Regions from separate parts of the Homo sapiens genome. Here regions 2 and 3 are each linked to region 1. The links are contacts of gene promoters, found by promoter capture Hi-C in blood cells and fetal thymus (Javierre and others, 2016). All regions are on one chromosome and are shown on one strand. The core of a region is centred on a gene start or on the middle of the fragment in contact, and the rest is flanking DNA. Distances in the headings are between cores, read along the strand shown.

Region 1 (5,073 bases), core at 1,446-3,945:
TTGGTGTGGAGGGGGGAACATTGGAATAAAAATGTCAATTTGGGCTTTCTGTTTGTTTTCAGTGGCAAAACTGGCTTGAAGTGTTTGGTGAAGCTACCGCCTTTTTCCCTGAGCCAAGATCCTGGGATCCCCTGGGTTGAGGAGAAGGTGGAGTCTGCAAAGCAGCCTACAGCGACCTTGACACCACCACCTCCTAGGAGAACTTGCAGGCCCAACTTGCAGTCAGTTAGTGCCACGTGGGATGACTAGAGGGAGCAGGGGCCCTATAAACCTTGCTGGCTGCCAGGACATGGGCACACAGACACGGCTGATCAGAGAGGAAGCCCAAGACAGAAGCAGTGACACTTTCTTTTCTTTCCTAGTAGCTGCTCTCACTGAAAATGTCCTTTTTTTAATGAAATTAGTGGGACTAGATTCCTGCGGGAAAACACACAGAGAGAAACCCTATTCTACCTCTCTTCCTTCTCTTTGTTATATTAAGTGGCAACAGCTCCTCTAATCACTAATAAATTCAGGTTTATAAGTCACAATAGCAGTGTCAGGGTTAGGCTGTGAGTGTTACAGGCACTTAAAAGGTCCTTCAAGTTAAAACAAAAAATACTCTCTTTGTTTGCCATCTTTGTACTGTTTAACATGAGTATTTCAACAGTCTTTATTTTCCAAACATGCAAACAGGAGAGAGTGATCTGACCCACAGCATATTGACATACCATCTAGCTATAACCTTGAGATAAAAAGTAAAGGAAAAAGTCAAAACAGCTCAAACCAAATACTAATACAAACAAGTCTTTCTTCACTCTCGACCCCTTCCCCCCCCATATCAGTGGAACAAACTAGCATCAACACTCATTGACGGTGGTGGATTCACATGGCTCTATACTTGTGCAGCTTCAGGGGGACAGGAGAGCCCAAATACAAAGGGGAAAGTTTAATGTATTAATCAACTAATTCAACAAATACTTATTACTATATGTATCTGCTCTGATGCAGACAAGGTTGTAGACGCTGGGAATATCTCATACATTTAAGGGATGTATAAGACTTGCAAGGTCTCTGCCCTTGTGAAATTTATCTAGTGGTGTTAGAAAAAAAAAATCAGAGAATATAGCCCACAGTGTTGAGAGGAGATAAGAAATAGCAGCTGTACCAGAAAGCATGAGTTGGTTTCCTGGATTCTGTATATCCAGGAATGCAACTGCTTCAAAATCTGGGTCAAACTGTGGAATGGCTATTAAAGACAGAAAGGCAGAAAGAAAAAAAGCAGAGAATCAGAGAGAAGCTTCTCTTTCCACCACATATGGGAGGGTCCTTTGGGAGTTTTTACCAAATTGTTCAGGAAGAGTTAAACATGATGTTTTTAAGGTGATGAATTTAAAAAAAAACCACAATAAGTGCACCTTTGTCCCACGATGGAAGGACCCCAAAGGTGGAACATCCCAATTTAACAAGAGTAACTTTCTGAACATCTTCGTTATGCTAAACTCTGGGCTAGGCATTTATGGTTTTAGCTCATTTAATCCTCTCAACCAAATCCATTAAAGATAAACACTAACTTTTATTCCCATTTCGCATACGAATAAATAGACCTAGAGAAGTTAAGTAACTTGCCCTTACTCAAGGACACAAACCTGGTAGAGAGTGGAACCAGAATCGGATCACAGCTCCATCTGACTCAAAATCGATGTCCTAAACCACTTCATTTGCATTCATAAAATTATTTTTCATCCTTTTATTTCAGTAAAAAGGAATAATGTATTAATGTTAAATAGGAAAATTATTCAGATGGCTTCAGAAACTGACCTGTGTTTTTAAGATATTTTTTTGAACAGACATCCACATATATCCAATCAGTCAAAATCAAATAACACCATTTTCTCAAATGCATGAAAAAGTAAGAGATGACTTGTAACTGCCTAAATGTACCTAAGTTCAATATCTCAAATTAGAATTATGATTCAAGAATGAATGGGGATCAGCATTTTATTCAACTGATGAATTGCTCCTCAAAGTTTATTTTATTTTATAACTGCATACATTTCCATCATCACACTTTAATTGAAAATTAAATTAATAGTAAAATAAGGTGAAACTGGTTTAGTGAAAACAATGCAAAACTCCATAATAAAGTTCATGCCCATTTGGGAATGAATCCATATCAAAAATCTTTATCAAAAATAATTGTAGTGGAATTAAACTTTGAAAGGAGGTGAAGGTCTTGCTTTGGGTTGAAATCATTTAAATTAAATATAATGAAAAGTGACCAGGGTGCTTATTTTTACTTTGTTTTGTGGGAAATTGTGCTGGGAATGTGGATCTATTGTACACAAAGGATGTTGGCTTTATGCTGGAACCACTAGGCAGGTTGAGTTGAGAAACAATTAGCTCAGTCAGCAAGCCTTTGAATCTGATTAAGCCAGGAAGTGGTCACTCCCCAGGACAGGGCAGAATGAAGGGAATCAAGGCAGCAATCCAAAGCAAGGGATAATTTTTTTCTCTCTTTCTCTTAAATAAATTGTTATTAGAATTTATTGTGTCAAATTTATGCCAAGGACTATTTGAGTACATTTCATCTTTGGTAAAACAAATAGAATCTTGTTTCCAAGTAGATCAACAGTTCGTATGTGTCGTGGCTACTGTCTCTAAGAAACTTCTATTTACTGAGGCCTGTCATACGCTCATGTTTTGGTAACAAAACATCTTTGAGACCAAGGCCTCAAGCCACCAAGGAAAATGAAGGGCCTCTACCAGGCTGCTGGCCGGATTCTTGTTACTCTGGGGATCCTCAGTGTATGCTCTGGAGTTATTGCTTTCTTTCCTGTCTTTTCTTACAAGCCTTGGTTCACAGGATGGAGTGTTCGAATTGCTTGTCCTATCTGGAATGGAGCTTTGGTATGAAAATAGTTTATTAAATATATTGAGAAAATAAAAGAAGGTGGGAGGGAAAGGGAAAACAGAAGAACATATCCTTTTAAATTGTTCTAACAATACAAAGAAGTCAAAATTCCACAAAAAATCAGAATCCGCCTTGGAACATTGATTTCTATTAATTGCATTTTAAGTATAAAAATGATCTTAATATTGTTTTATCATGTATACATGTATATTATGTATTTTTAATGACATGCTGCTCAAGAAATTCTTAAAAAGTTATTTTATTTTAATCCACTTAACTTGATATGCTAAGAAATTAGAATCTTTTGAAATGTGAATTTTGAATTTAGAAAAAAACATAAACCTTGAAAAGTAATTTTAAAATACAGAACAAAGTAAAATAATTTTCAAACTAATGCTTTCATTGCAAACACTAAGATGTACATGGCCCCAAAATTTACAAACCCCAAATATTTGTTTTTCCACCTTTCTCTTGCAAGCAACTGTTTGAACTGAAAATAACTCAATAATTTTCAATTATTTGAAAATAATTCAAATAATTCAATAATTCAAGATGGACTTCACAATTCACTAGGAAAGTACATGTGCCAAGTACAGCGTACGACACTAAGTAGTACTCCGTGTGCGCTCATTGAATCATTGCACAGATAAACGATTGGCCTGGTCCCTTAGCTCTCCAACCAAAAAAAAATGGGCACATCTAGTCTTGGGAGTAACTGGCTTCCATGCTGGTATGATTTAAGAGAAGTTACAGAGACCCACCTGTCCAACAAATCCTTCTCTCATTGATTCCTGTGACGCCTGACACTACTGGAGACTGGAGAATTCAATATTGAAGCTTTTTGATCTTAAGGAATCTTCTATTAAAATGTAGCCACTTGGCCGGGCATGGTGGCTCACGCTTGTAATCCCAGCACTTTGGGAAGCCAAGGGGAGCGGATCACGAGGTCAGGAGTTCGAGACCAGCCTGACCAACATGGCGAAACCCCGTCACTACTAAAAATACAAAAATTAGCTAGGCGTGGTGGCATGCACCTGTAATCCCAGCTACTCAGGAGACTGAGGCAGGAGAATCACATGAACCTGGGAGGCAGAGTTTGCAGTGAGCCGAGATCATACCACTGCACTCCAGCCTGGGTGACAGAGCAAGACTCCATCTCAAAACAAACAAACAAAATGTAGCCACTGTTGTGTGAGATAGTATCTTAAATCTTTAAAAAGTTAAAACTTTAACTGAGATACCACCTAAAAACTAGACCTCAGGAAATATAAATTTTAATCTACTTATTAGATAAATATTTATGAATAGCCCCCTATGTCGTTGAGTTACAATGAAGGATCCAACAAGGTCTTCATCTTAAAGGAACTTGGTCTAGTGGGGTTTGATGAATGTGTGCAGATAGACGGAAGCCAGTGGGATTATGGGAGAGTCGATGGAATGAGGAAACCACAGGGTTATCTTTCTCTTTCTCAGTTTTTTTTTCTTTTTCAATACATTCTTTTGCATCTATCACCCCAATCTTGATCTTCCCTTCTTTTCTCCAACACCTACCTGAAACCACAATTCATTCAAAGAAATATTTGTTTAAGTTCTACTGGAATGCAGAGATGGCAGTTACACTTATTCAAGTGGCTTCCAAACTTTTTTTTGGTGACTCAGAGTCAGAAAAATATTTTAGGTGAGGACCCAGAATGTACATAAATACATCTACATTCTTCTCTCTAGATAAATAGATATCTACATCTATTATGTATATACATGTATAGTAGATGTTTATATATCTATAAAACAAAAGTTGCTCAAAATAGTACTTACCCTCTATGTGAAACATATTCTGATATTTTCTATTTCATTTAATTTTTTTAAAAATTCTGATTTCACAAAGTTTAACAATATCATGATTAGAGTTCAACCCTACATTCTTTTGTTACAGCTGTTTGCCTATCCTTTCAGACTGCAACATAATACATTAAACAAATATTGGTGATTTTGATTAAGATTACAGATGATTGAATGTATTGTTCTAGGCCAAACATCTATTTTTACCAGTTAGGCCCGGAGAAATGATATGATGTGTCTCCAGCACATAGTTAATTGGTAACTGTTTGATTTCAGAGGTGGCAGCATCAGGAAATGGAGTCAGAGATAAAGGATTTAGAGAAGTGGACCTGTTTTCAAGT
Region 2 (5,073 bases), core at 1,415-3,914, 830 kb before region 1:
TTGTTTTACAATATATTTATAGCATTTGTTTTCAATTTTACCAAAAACATTTTGTATATTTTTTTCACACTGTATTTTTTTAAATGGAGAGAAAAGAAAGAAGAATCATAATTGGGACTTCGTTCATAGTGTTATTATCTGCATTTTATGGGAGAAGAAACTGAGGCTCAGATTTAATATTTAAGGCCATGCAGAGACAGTGCCAGAATTTATTTGCTCTGAATTCAAAGCCCTTTCCACATTTGGGGTTGACTCTTTACCTTGATAAAGCTACACTGATCTTCAGTTATTTTTATTAACAATGAAAATAATAAAAAGAGATTTAATTAGACTGTTAACTTGATATTTTAGTCTTTTGCTTCAACTGATCATTGAAGATACATGGAATTCAAGTCTTTTCTGTAGGTAAAAGTGTTAAAAATACTTTTATATACAAATCTTACGTCCTCACCACTCCTTCCCCATCCCCATGGATAGAGGTGCCTTGAAAGGCAACTACGTCTTGTGAAAATGGGTTAAAATCTCAACCTAGCACCGTCAAAATCAGAGCTTCATTGGCAGAAGTTACAGATTTAGCCATTTGTTTTAGAGAGAGATTGAATGATTCTCCCTTTCTTCAGATGTCTGCTAATTAGTTGCCTCTGAATGTTTGAAAAGCTGTCTCCAAGAACTAGCGATTCCCACTATTCAGAATAAAGTTTGTGGGAGGAACCTCCTTCCTTTATTCTGAACTTTTAAATATCAGCTGCTTCTCTCTGATTCACTTTCCCTATGGACACCACCACTGTAATGCTTCACTCGGTCATGTCTAGAATCATACAGGGCTGGGGAATGTGGTCTAAGAGATGGGTTCAGAGTGTTAAGGTCTTGTCAGATAGAAGAGATGGAGACATGGCAGCCAGGTAGTCCATAAGGGCAGAATTAAGGGTCGTGGTATAGCAGTCTCCCACTGTCTGCTATACCACAGCAGTAATAACAACGGCTAGCATTTACTGGTAGCTTACTGTATGTCAGATTCTATGCGGAACGTTTTACATATGTTCTCACAATCACCCTATAAGGTAGATATTATTATCCACTTCATTTAATAAATGAAGCAACTGAGAGTCAGAGTTAAATAATTTGTCTGTGATCATACAACTAGAAATGATGTCATTGCCATGGACGAGAACCTTGATAGCATCATAATTCCTACTTACTGGTCCCAAACCTCCCAACTCAGGATTTCAACTTTATGCTATTGCCTTTCCCTCTGTGATGTCACCCTAGACTCAAAAATATCCCTGAGTGCTACCACATCCGCCTTTAGAGTTACTTTCAGACAAAGGTAGGTGTGTGTGTGTGTGTGTGTGTGTGTGTGTGTGTGTGTGACTTACCACAATATAGTCCTGATATGCTTCTTCCAGCAATTATAAGTATATGAGATGGTCCCAATTTTGAAAACCCCATCAAGAGAGCTCCAACTAATGACAGAATGTTTGCTACTAACATGGCTTTGATTCTGAAATTTTAAAAAGCAAGGAATATAAATTCAGCATCAAAACTTGCTAAAATTATTCGCTTTCAGAGCATGTTGAGATTTTTTTTAACCTAAGAGCAATTATTTTAATTTTGCTGTAAAAGCTAGTTGGGGAATCTTGAACCAAGATTGCTAATTTGACTCATCTATGGACTAAAGTATTACTAATAAGCAAGACTTATGATGGGATAACCTAGGTTGCATCCACCTGATCTCTACATTTTTCTATTTTATTTTGAGACAGGGTCTCACTCGCTCTGTCACTCAGGCTGGAGTGCAAAGGCACCATCATGGTTCATTGAAGTCTTGACCTCCCAGGCTCAAGCCTAATCTCTACATTTTGATAGAGATGATTCAATCCTGGTGAGGACAAGCTTAAGATAACACTTATGACAGTTTTTCAAAGAGTTAACTAAGTTTTCTCTAAGTTGATTGTTTTAAAGAATAATTGTCTGGTGATAGCTAAATTCAATTCTATAGTTGTAACCTACAACTTTTTTTTTCTTTCAATGGCACAGGTTTTTAATCTAGATAGGAAAGGAACTTTCAAAGTTAAATTTCCTTTTGTATAAATTATTTGGAAGTAATTTAAAACATACTTTTAAGCCTTATCTAGAGAATTATAATTATCTGTATTTTAATATTGTATGCCAGCATATTTCCAAAATCTATAAATTATTAGTGACCAATGTAAAATACATAATAGAGCTGACAATAGCAACAAAAACACTTTCAAAATTAATCAGATGAAAATTGACAACATTTGCAGATATCTGTTACTTTTATTTCTAATTAATGGGAAAGCGAGGTACACAGAAAACCTTTTTTGCAGTCAAGCAGATAATGGTAAGGCCAATAAATGCCTGAGTAGACAGGTGTGAAAATGTTTGTGCCAAAAGAAATGTAAACGTCCTTGTTATATTCTATTTCACTGCTTCAAACTTTGATAGGTGGGCCTTTTCCATGCAAGTATCTTTAACACCAACCAAACAGAATTTTTTTTTTCTGGAGCATAAAACTATAAAGTCACATACTGCAGTGATTGTCCAACATCCACGTGATAGGCTAAATCATGTCCCCTGGCAGCCTACAGCATAATCCCCAGACTCTGTAAATGTTACGTCACATAGCAAATGAGGTTTTGCAGATGTGATTGAGAATCTTGAGATGGGGAGATTATCTTCAATTATCTGAGTGAATCCAATGATGTAATCACAAATGTCCTGATAAGAGTAAGGTAGAAGAGGAGCAGGTGATATGATGACAGAAGTAGAGATTAGAATGTTGTGCTTCAAAGATGGAAGAAGGGGCCACAAGCCAGAGAACTATAGTTGGTCACTGCAAGCTGGAAAAGGGCAAGGAATGCATTCTTCCCTCAAAGCCTCCAGAAGGAACCAGCCTTATTGGCATTTTGACTTTAGCTAACTAAAACTGAGTTTGGAATTTTGACCTCCAAAACTATAAGAAAACATATTTGTGTTGTTTTAAGCCACTAAATTGGGGATAATTCATTACAGCAGCAATGTGAAATGAGTATAGGGAAACAGAGTGATTTAGAGCTGGCTAGCCCCAGAGCTACAGAGTAGAAAAATAGTTTAAGGGGTGTTTAGTAGTTTAGACTATTGTGAAATGCTTTTTATCTACACAGGGACAGAGGGCAGGCAAATTCAATAATTGACCTTAACAAGTTGTTACCACCTAGCTAATAGTCTCTTTTATTAGGGGAAAAAAGATAAAAAGTCATAAAAGAAATAGCCTGGAAGAATCTTTGATGCCCTAAAGTCCCCTTTCCCTACCACCAAAGGATGCAGGAACACTTTATGTAATTTAAATTCTTTTAACTTCTGTTCAGATATTAGAAATGGCCACAAATAAATACTTTAAAAAATACATGAAATAGCTGAATCAGGGAAAAAGAAGCTTAATTCTATGTAAGCATATTTCTTAAAATCTGACTCTAAATACTTCAGATAGTATAGGCTCGATTATTGTCGTGGTCATGGTCATTGTCGTCATCATCATCATCATCATCATCATCAAAATGAGGCCACATTTGGTGTTTGCTTAATAAATGTCAGGCATTGTTTTAAACCTTTTATATTTGTTGTCATTAAATCCTCACAATAATGCCATGAGGTAGGTATTATTTTTGTTTTCACATTGCAGATGGGAGGAAAACGTCTTAGAGAACCTAATAACTTGCTCATTTTCATACAGCTATTAAGTGACAGATCTTGGACTTGATCTGTGTGAAACCAAAGGGTAATGTATCATTTTAATGAGTTCCATTTTTGATGGGAAAGAATGCATGCCTTCAAAGGCAAGCTATGCATCGCTTCCTTTACTCATGGTAGTGTGGATTGCACAGACCATAGTCTTCTCTACCGTACCCTGGTAATTAAACTGTAAATGCATAGGTTGGAAAAATTGGCCTTGCAAACCCAAAACTATAAAATGGTGGCCACAGACATCTGTTGACTATTACACAATTGCAAGGAAACACTTTTTTTTTTAAAGGCAATAATGGAAGTATTACATTTTTATTTATTTACTTTTGACTGGTAGATAAATGACACTGGTAATAATGAAAATCATGTCACTTCTCAATGAATCTCTCTAGAAAGATAATTTTATGGGGATACTGATAACTTTGTCTTAATTTTGATGTTGAAGTTATGGACTTTTGGGCTGCTTTTCAAGGGGGATCATTTTATTACTAAAAGCTAGGAGAAACCTCACTTTTTGTTTACCATAGGTCATTTGATACGTGGTCATTTGACATTGTTTTGGGGTATAACCATTGTTGATGCCAAATCCTAAGACTTCAGAGGGTTTGTATATTGGCTCCATTAAATGTTAATTAAATGTTAACACTAATTAAATGTTTTAGGTTAAGTCACTGAACTCATCAGAATCTTACCTCTAAATGAGAGGCAACCAGGGTTTACATTTTTTCTTCAGGAATGAGAAGTAGTATAAAATATCAGTAGTTGCTAAATGATTTGTGCATATTTTAGAACGTAATTTAATTTTGCTTAATTTGATTTACTTAAAAATTTTTTTTAAAATTATTTTTCCTTTTTCCTTTTGTCTGAGCCCACTTGCTAGGAAATAATTTACTTTAGCAATAAATAATTAATCTAGAGAATTCTCCATTTACTACTTAAACCAACTTGATACACATTGAAATTATTTTTGAATTTTTTTAAATGATGAAATTCAGTTTATTAATCCGTATTTTACAGATTCGTATTTAAAGTTCAACTGAACATCAGCAAGTTGATTAAAATATAAGAAATTGACCACTGTCTTTTATGGTGGAGAAAACTCCATTTCAAATAAAAATAATAATAAAACTTGGGTTACCATGATATTGTAGTTAAGAAAACTTATAGTCATATTATATAAAAGCTCCAGTATAAGAGGAAGAGTTATCAGAATTTTAATAACCAGAGAGCTAAAAATTATAATTTATAATAGGAATTGAAAAACTAAGTGAATTATAATCCAGAATTATTAAACTAGTTGCCTAAATTGTTATTTACATCTTTAAA
Region 3 (5,073 bases), core at 790-3,289, 520 kb after region 1:
TAAGTTATCACTCTTAAGTTCAGCCTTCCACAAAGCCCTAGGACATGGAAACAATGCAGCCAAGTTCTTTGCTCCAGTTCCCAAAAGTTCCTCATTTCCATCTGAGACCTCCGCAGCATGGCCTTCACTGCCCATATTTCCATCAGCGCTTTGGTCATGACCACTTATTCAGTGTCTAAGAAGTTCCAGACTTTCCTGTCTTCTTCTGAGCCCTCCAGACTCTTCCAGTGTCTGCCCATTACCCACTTCCAAAGCCAGTTCCACATTTTCAGGTATCTTTATAGCAACCCTCTACTCCTCAATATCAATTTTCTTTTAGTTCATTTTGTGTTGCCAAACAATTCTCCCACCACAACCTCCCAAGTACTGGGACCACAGGCATGTGTCACTATGCCCACTAAATTATTTTTTTGTAGAGATGGAGTCTCACTAGGTGGCCCAGCCTGGTCTCAAACTCCTGGACTCAGGCAATCCTCCTGCCTCGGCTTCTCAAAGTGCTGGAATTACAGGTGTAAGCCACCACGCCTGGCCTAAAATAACATTTTATATATACATTTTAACTCTTCGATTTTAAATTCATGGATGATTAAGGTAATATGTTTCTTATCCATAACTCTGTGCTACACATAGCAAACATCCAGCTAAGATTTTTGCACATCTGGATGCCATCCCATTACTAACAATATCTGCATGCTTAGCTCTAGATAAGGACTTGCAGAGATTGTTGGATGAGGCTGGCAAAAGGGAGACATGAAATGTCCTGTTGATGAGTTGTCCTGTGTTTTTGACTCTGAAGGAGACTCATTTGTTCCCCCATTTCATTTACTCTTGATAGCTCACCTACTTCCAAAACTGACCATGAGGTAGCTAAACGGTAGCTAGGACAAAATATAAAAGCGTATCTTTAAGATATCTTCCCTGAGACAACAAACCTATTTTTTTTAAATTAAAGAACTAAGAGATATCTTGCTACCGTGCTTTTTTGCTATTTTTTTTTTAAATGGAGACTATAGTCTGTCCACTGAGCAACCCCGTGCTTCTATTTGTCTTGAGTTACTTTAACTTGTTTTTCTTCATTCTATGTTATTGCTTTAGGGACAAGTAATAAATACTATGCTCAATGTTTATTTCGAATGAAGAATTGCTGCTGCTTTAACCTGCATTGTCTGTATTTTTTTTTTCCTTTCTCTAGGATCAGAATTCAGGCTATAAATGAAATTGGAGCTGGACCATTTAGTCAGTTCATTAAAGCAAAAACTCGGCCATTACCACCCTTGCCTCCTAGGCTAGAATGTGCTGCTGCTGGTCCTCAGAGCCTGAAGCTAAAATGGGGAGACAGTAACTCCAAGACACATGCTGCTGAGGACATTGTGTACACACTACAGCTGGAGGACAGAAACAAGAGGTGAGGTGGGGGTGAGGATGCTCCTGAAGCTTCTGTAGCTTTGGCTTGTGGGATGAAATCTCAATTGTACATTTTTATTTGCTTGCACTAAGACCCTCTTCCTTCTTGTTCAGAGGCTTCCTTTGACTTGAGCCCTGCGTTTTATACCCGGAGTCGTTCCTTTTATTCTCTATTTGGAATTTCTAAACATTCTAAAGATCCTGATTTCCCTACATAGCATAATATGCACTTTTTTTTCCTTTCATCAAGCCAGATAATGGAGAGAAAGTATCTAAAGAAAATTGTCAAATTCAAGTTCACACTATGTAATAGCATTATATTAGTCATGAGTGCAGAGGGAAATAAGACCCAGGAAGAGATGTTACCTCTTTAAATATTCAGTAACCATCAGGACAAACATGTTTACCAATGTGAAATAGCTGTGGGTGATGTACAGATGGGGACTGTACTCTGTAACTATGGGCAATGCAATATCAAATTAACCAGAGCAAATAGGAGATTCTTCATAAAACTCCATACCCAGGAAACATTCTTGGCTGTCAAAATCAAATGTAGCCTTTCACGTAGTATTTGTTTAACCTAACTTCATTTCCTCTGAAAATGTCCGATCAGAAGACAGCCAAACTGTATTTAGAAATAATCCAATGTCAAGCAAAAGTTAATGGTGACAGAATGTTCTGTTACCAAAAGTCCTAATCAGACAATCAGGTAAAGGGAATGGGAGATCACCATAAAACCAAAACAACCAAAATGCTACTTCCCTGCTTACCTACTGACACACAAAACCAGTGTCAGGATAGAAGCATTTCTGTTATTTCCTTTTATGCATGATACTATTCTGTTCCTTCACGTATGGAACCCATTCTAGTTACACGGAAAACCCTGTCCCAGTCTCCACCCCCTACTCTGCAGTCAAGCACTTTGATGGATTTCAGTACAGTGGAGTCCTGTGGGCCTTCAGTGGAGACCAAGATTAGAAATCACATAAGACCCTACCTCTAGAAGCATAGTATCAATTTTTAAAATGGCCATAGAACATTAGTGTCAGAGGAAAAAATTGCTTTGGGAGTTTGAAGGAGGCAGAGACCATCTGGTTTAAAAGATCAGGAAAGATTTCTTGAAAGAGGTGACATTTGAGCTTGACTTTGGAGGACCTGGCAAACCTGGTAATTTTTATGACAGAACAAAACGTGATTATCCTCTTGGAAATTAGTTCTAGTGAAGAGAACACAGGGGAGGTAAAGCTTCTTTTGATAGGTTCATGAAAGATTAAATTCATATCCACTGATACACAAGAGCATTCATCTTATTGTGCTATATGTGCCTTCGGATGTGTTTTCATGGGCTTTTTATTTTACTGGCTAGGGACAACTCAACAGGAGAGGGCTGGCAAGAACAGCAATTGTGAACTAACAGAAATCACAATCCATGTATAAAAAAACTAGCATTGGGGGAAATTTTTAAATGTCTTTTCATTTTTTCCCAGACCTGTGGCTTCCATTGGTGGTAAATCCTTAGAAAATAGCTTCTAGTTGTGCTGTTTTAGAAAAAAGTGAAGCACAGAAAAGTTGTTGAAAGTGGTAGCTAGCTGAGTTGGGATAAAGGCCAGTGCCTCCCAATTCCCCGTGCCCTGCCTCCACTGCCATCTTAGAAATGTGGGAAGTGAAGGCTCTGCCCCAAGGGCACCCCCTCTTGCTGCAATCCTGCCCTGTGTGGGGCAGCAGCCCACTAGTGCCTCATAGGGAGAACTATACAAATGTGTAGTCTGATCCAAGGTTTTCCATGACACGGTGGCTCCTGGGCAAAGAACAAAAGCTCCCCAAGCACTTTTCCAAATGAGGTTCCTGGCATGAGGCATTTAAATATGCCAGACAAAAAACAGTGCAGAATCTAGTAATCAATACATGTTGTTTCTTCCCCCCTCAAAAAGCCCAAGGCTTGCCTAATCAAATAAATGACTTGCCTAAATTTAAATGGCAATTTAAGAAAACTTCGCATTAGGAACAGTATTTTTCTTAATTACAGGAGCTAGAGTCCAAATTTATCTTTTTAAATTAGATTTGTCAGTGCTCTCAGAAAGTTATTAAAGTGATGGGAATATAGAGCATAATAAATTCTCATTCTATTTGTGAATAATTTTCCTGAGATTTAATAGAATGAAAACAGCCTAATTTTAGTTTGAAGATGACCTTCCTCAGTGTCTTGAAACTGAACTCTTGTAGTGAGTGGCCTTTTGAATTCAAGCCTTTAACTTTGGATCTTGGCACATGGGTATCAAGGAGAAACAATTTGAGTTGGATACATCATAATACTTTTTATTAGCATAGCCTTTGTCAATCTAGCCTCCTCAAGGTTCTTTAGGACCTGGCTTCTGCAGTTGAAAAGAACAGTGTCTTCCTCCCAAGGGGCAGCTGTCTTTTTCATTGAACTTGTTGCTAGAGGAGCTTCTAGTTTTAAAGCACATACTCTTTAGCGTATGTGTTAATTTCATTAACCACCAGTAAGTTCTTCTTATGCATGTGGCCAAAATAATGATATATCCCGCTTGTGGCCAAGGTGAGAACCATAGATAGGCTTGTTATTTTACTTTTCTTTCTTACCTGCAGGCTCTCAAAGATATTTTTTCTCCTTAAGTTTGAGCATATTTCATGTAAATAAAAGGGATCCCAAAGAGCATCTTGTGCGAACCCTTGGCTCAAGACAACCCAACCTAAAATTCATCTAGATCACCTGGACTTTTATGTTGAAAGGATTTTTCCCCCAGAATAGGACATTTGTTTCCCATCTATTCTGGCTTACAATACTGAAGAGTCCCAGTCCATATTTATGAAGGAAGCAGCCTTAAAGTGTTACCATGAACACTTTATAAACAGGCATTGTGGGCCTTTGAAAAGAAAGCTGCTGATGTCTGAGTTTTATGGGAGTCCTAGCCAGCTGTTTAAGTGTTCTTCTTAACACTTAAGTATATTTTGTAACAGAAGAAAAATGAAAATTAGTATATCTGCGCTTCATAATTATCATATTAAAGAGTTGAGTCGATTTTAGCAACTAAACTATTGCTCTCCAAATTTCCTTAATTCATTAAATAAAGGGGTTAAACTAGAAGACGATCTCTGATATCTTTTCACCTTAAGGCAACAAATCTTTGTAGAGTATTTGTGAATTAAATCCTTTATGAAAAGGTGTCCCTTGTAAATGATTGGGGCATGTTGCCTCTTTTCCTTCATATTTTTAGTTTCTGCTATTCATAAAAAAATAAGAAAAATACTAACTTCCCTTAAGAGTAACTACTTAATGTCCAAAAACCCCTCAGGTTCTGCAACTATGATGCACTGATTTATGATGTTTATTTATATACCTCTCAGAAAATTTGAAATGACCAAGAGATTTACAAATGCAATGTTCAGCCAAAAATGTTTTTAACATTCTAAAGGATACTTATATTTTTATTGTTGTTGTTTTGTTATTGTTGTTGTTGTTTTTACAGCCTCCCTCCCAGGAAACTTGGATTTATTGCATGCCTACAGGAGCGCTAAGCATTGAGAGCTTTGTCTACATTATTTAGTTCTTGAGTAAAAAGGGAAATATTTTCTAGAAAGTAGGGTTTGTACCAAAGCCTTCTACCATTTAGGTGAAAAAAAAAACATAGTTTCTGATAAGTTGAATTG

Evidence for each region. Contacts are between HindIII fragments. The CHiCAGO score rates a contact against its expected background, and 5 or more counts as called.
Region 2: a fragment that was not itself captured here is called in contact with the fragment with the promoter of TMEM212 in region 1 in 1 of 17 cell types (fetal thymus); the score reaches 5.1 in fetal thymus.
Region 3: a fragment that was not itself captured here is called in contact with the fragment with the promoter of TMEM212 in region 1 in 1 of 17 cell types (neutrophils); the score reaches 5.2 in neutrophils.

What each region holds. Positions count from the first base shown.
Region 1 is chr3:171,840,654-171,845,726 of GRCh38, forward strand. It overlaps TMEM212 (transmembrane protein 212), which reads left to right and starts at 2,696. Exons shown (of 5, transcript NM_001164436.2): 1 at 2,696-2,889. The coding sequence starts at 2,731. The HindIII fragment of the contact is 2,451 bases long and covers 1,278-3,728 here.
Region 2 is chr3:171,008,582-171,013,654 of GRCh38, forward strand. SLC2A2 (solute carrier family 2 member 2) reads right to left here. Exons shown (of 11, transcript NM_000340.2): 4 at 1,377-1,501. Among named protein-coding and RNA genes, the nearest start is that of SLC2A2, 16 kb to the right of the region's middle. The HindIII fragment of the contact is 1,546 bases long and covers 1,892-3,437 here.
Region 3 is chr3:172,361,441-172,366,513 of GRCh38, forward strand. FNDC3B (fibronectin type III domain containing 3B) reads left to right here. Exons shown (of 26, transcript NM_022763.4): 23 at 1,193-1,405. Among named protein-coding and RNA genes, the nearest start is that of GHSR, 84 kb to the right of the region's middle. The HindIII fragment of the contact is 1,215 bases long and covers 1,433-2,647 here.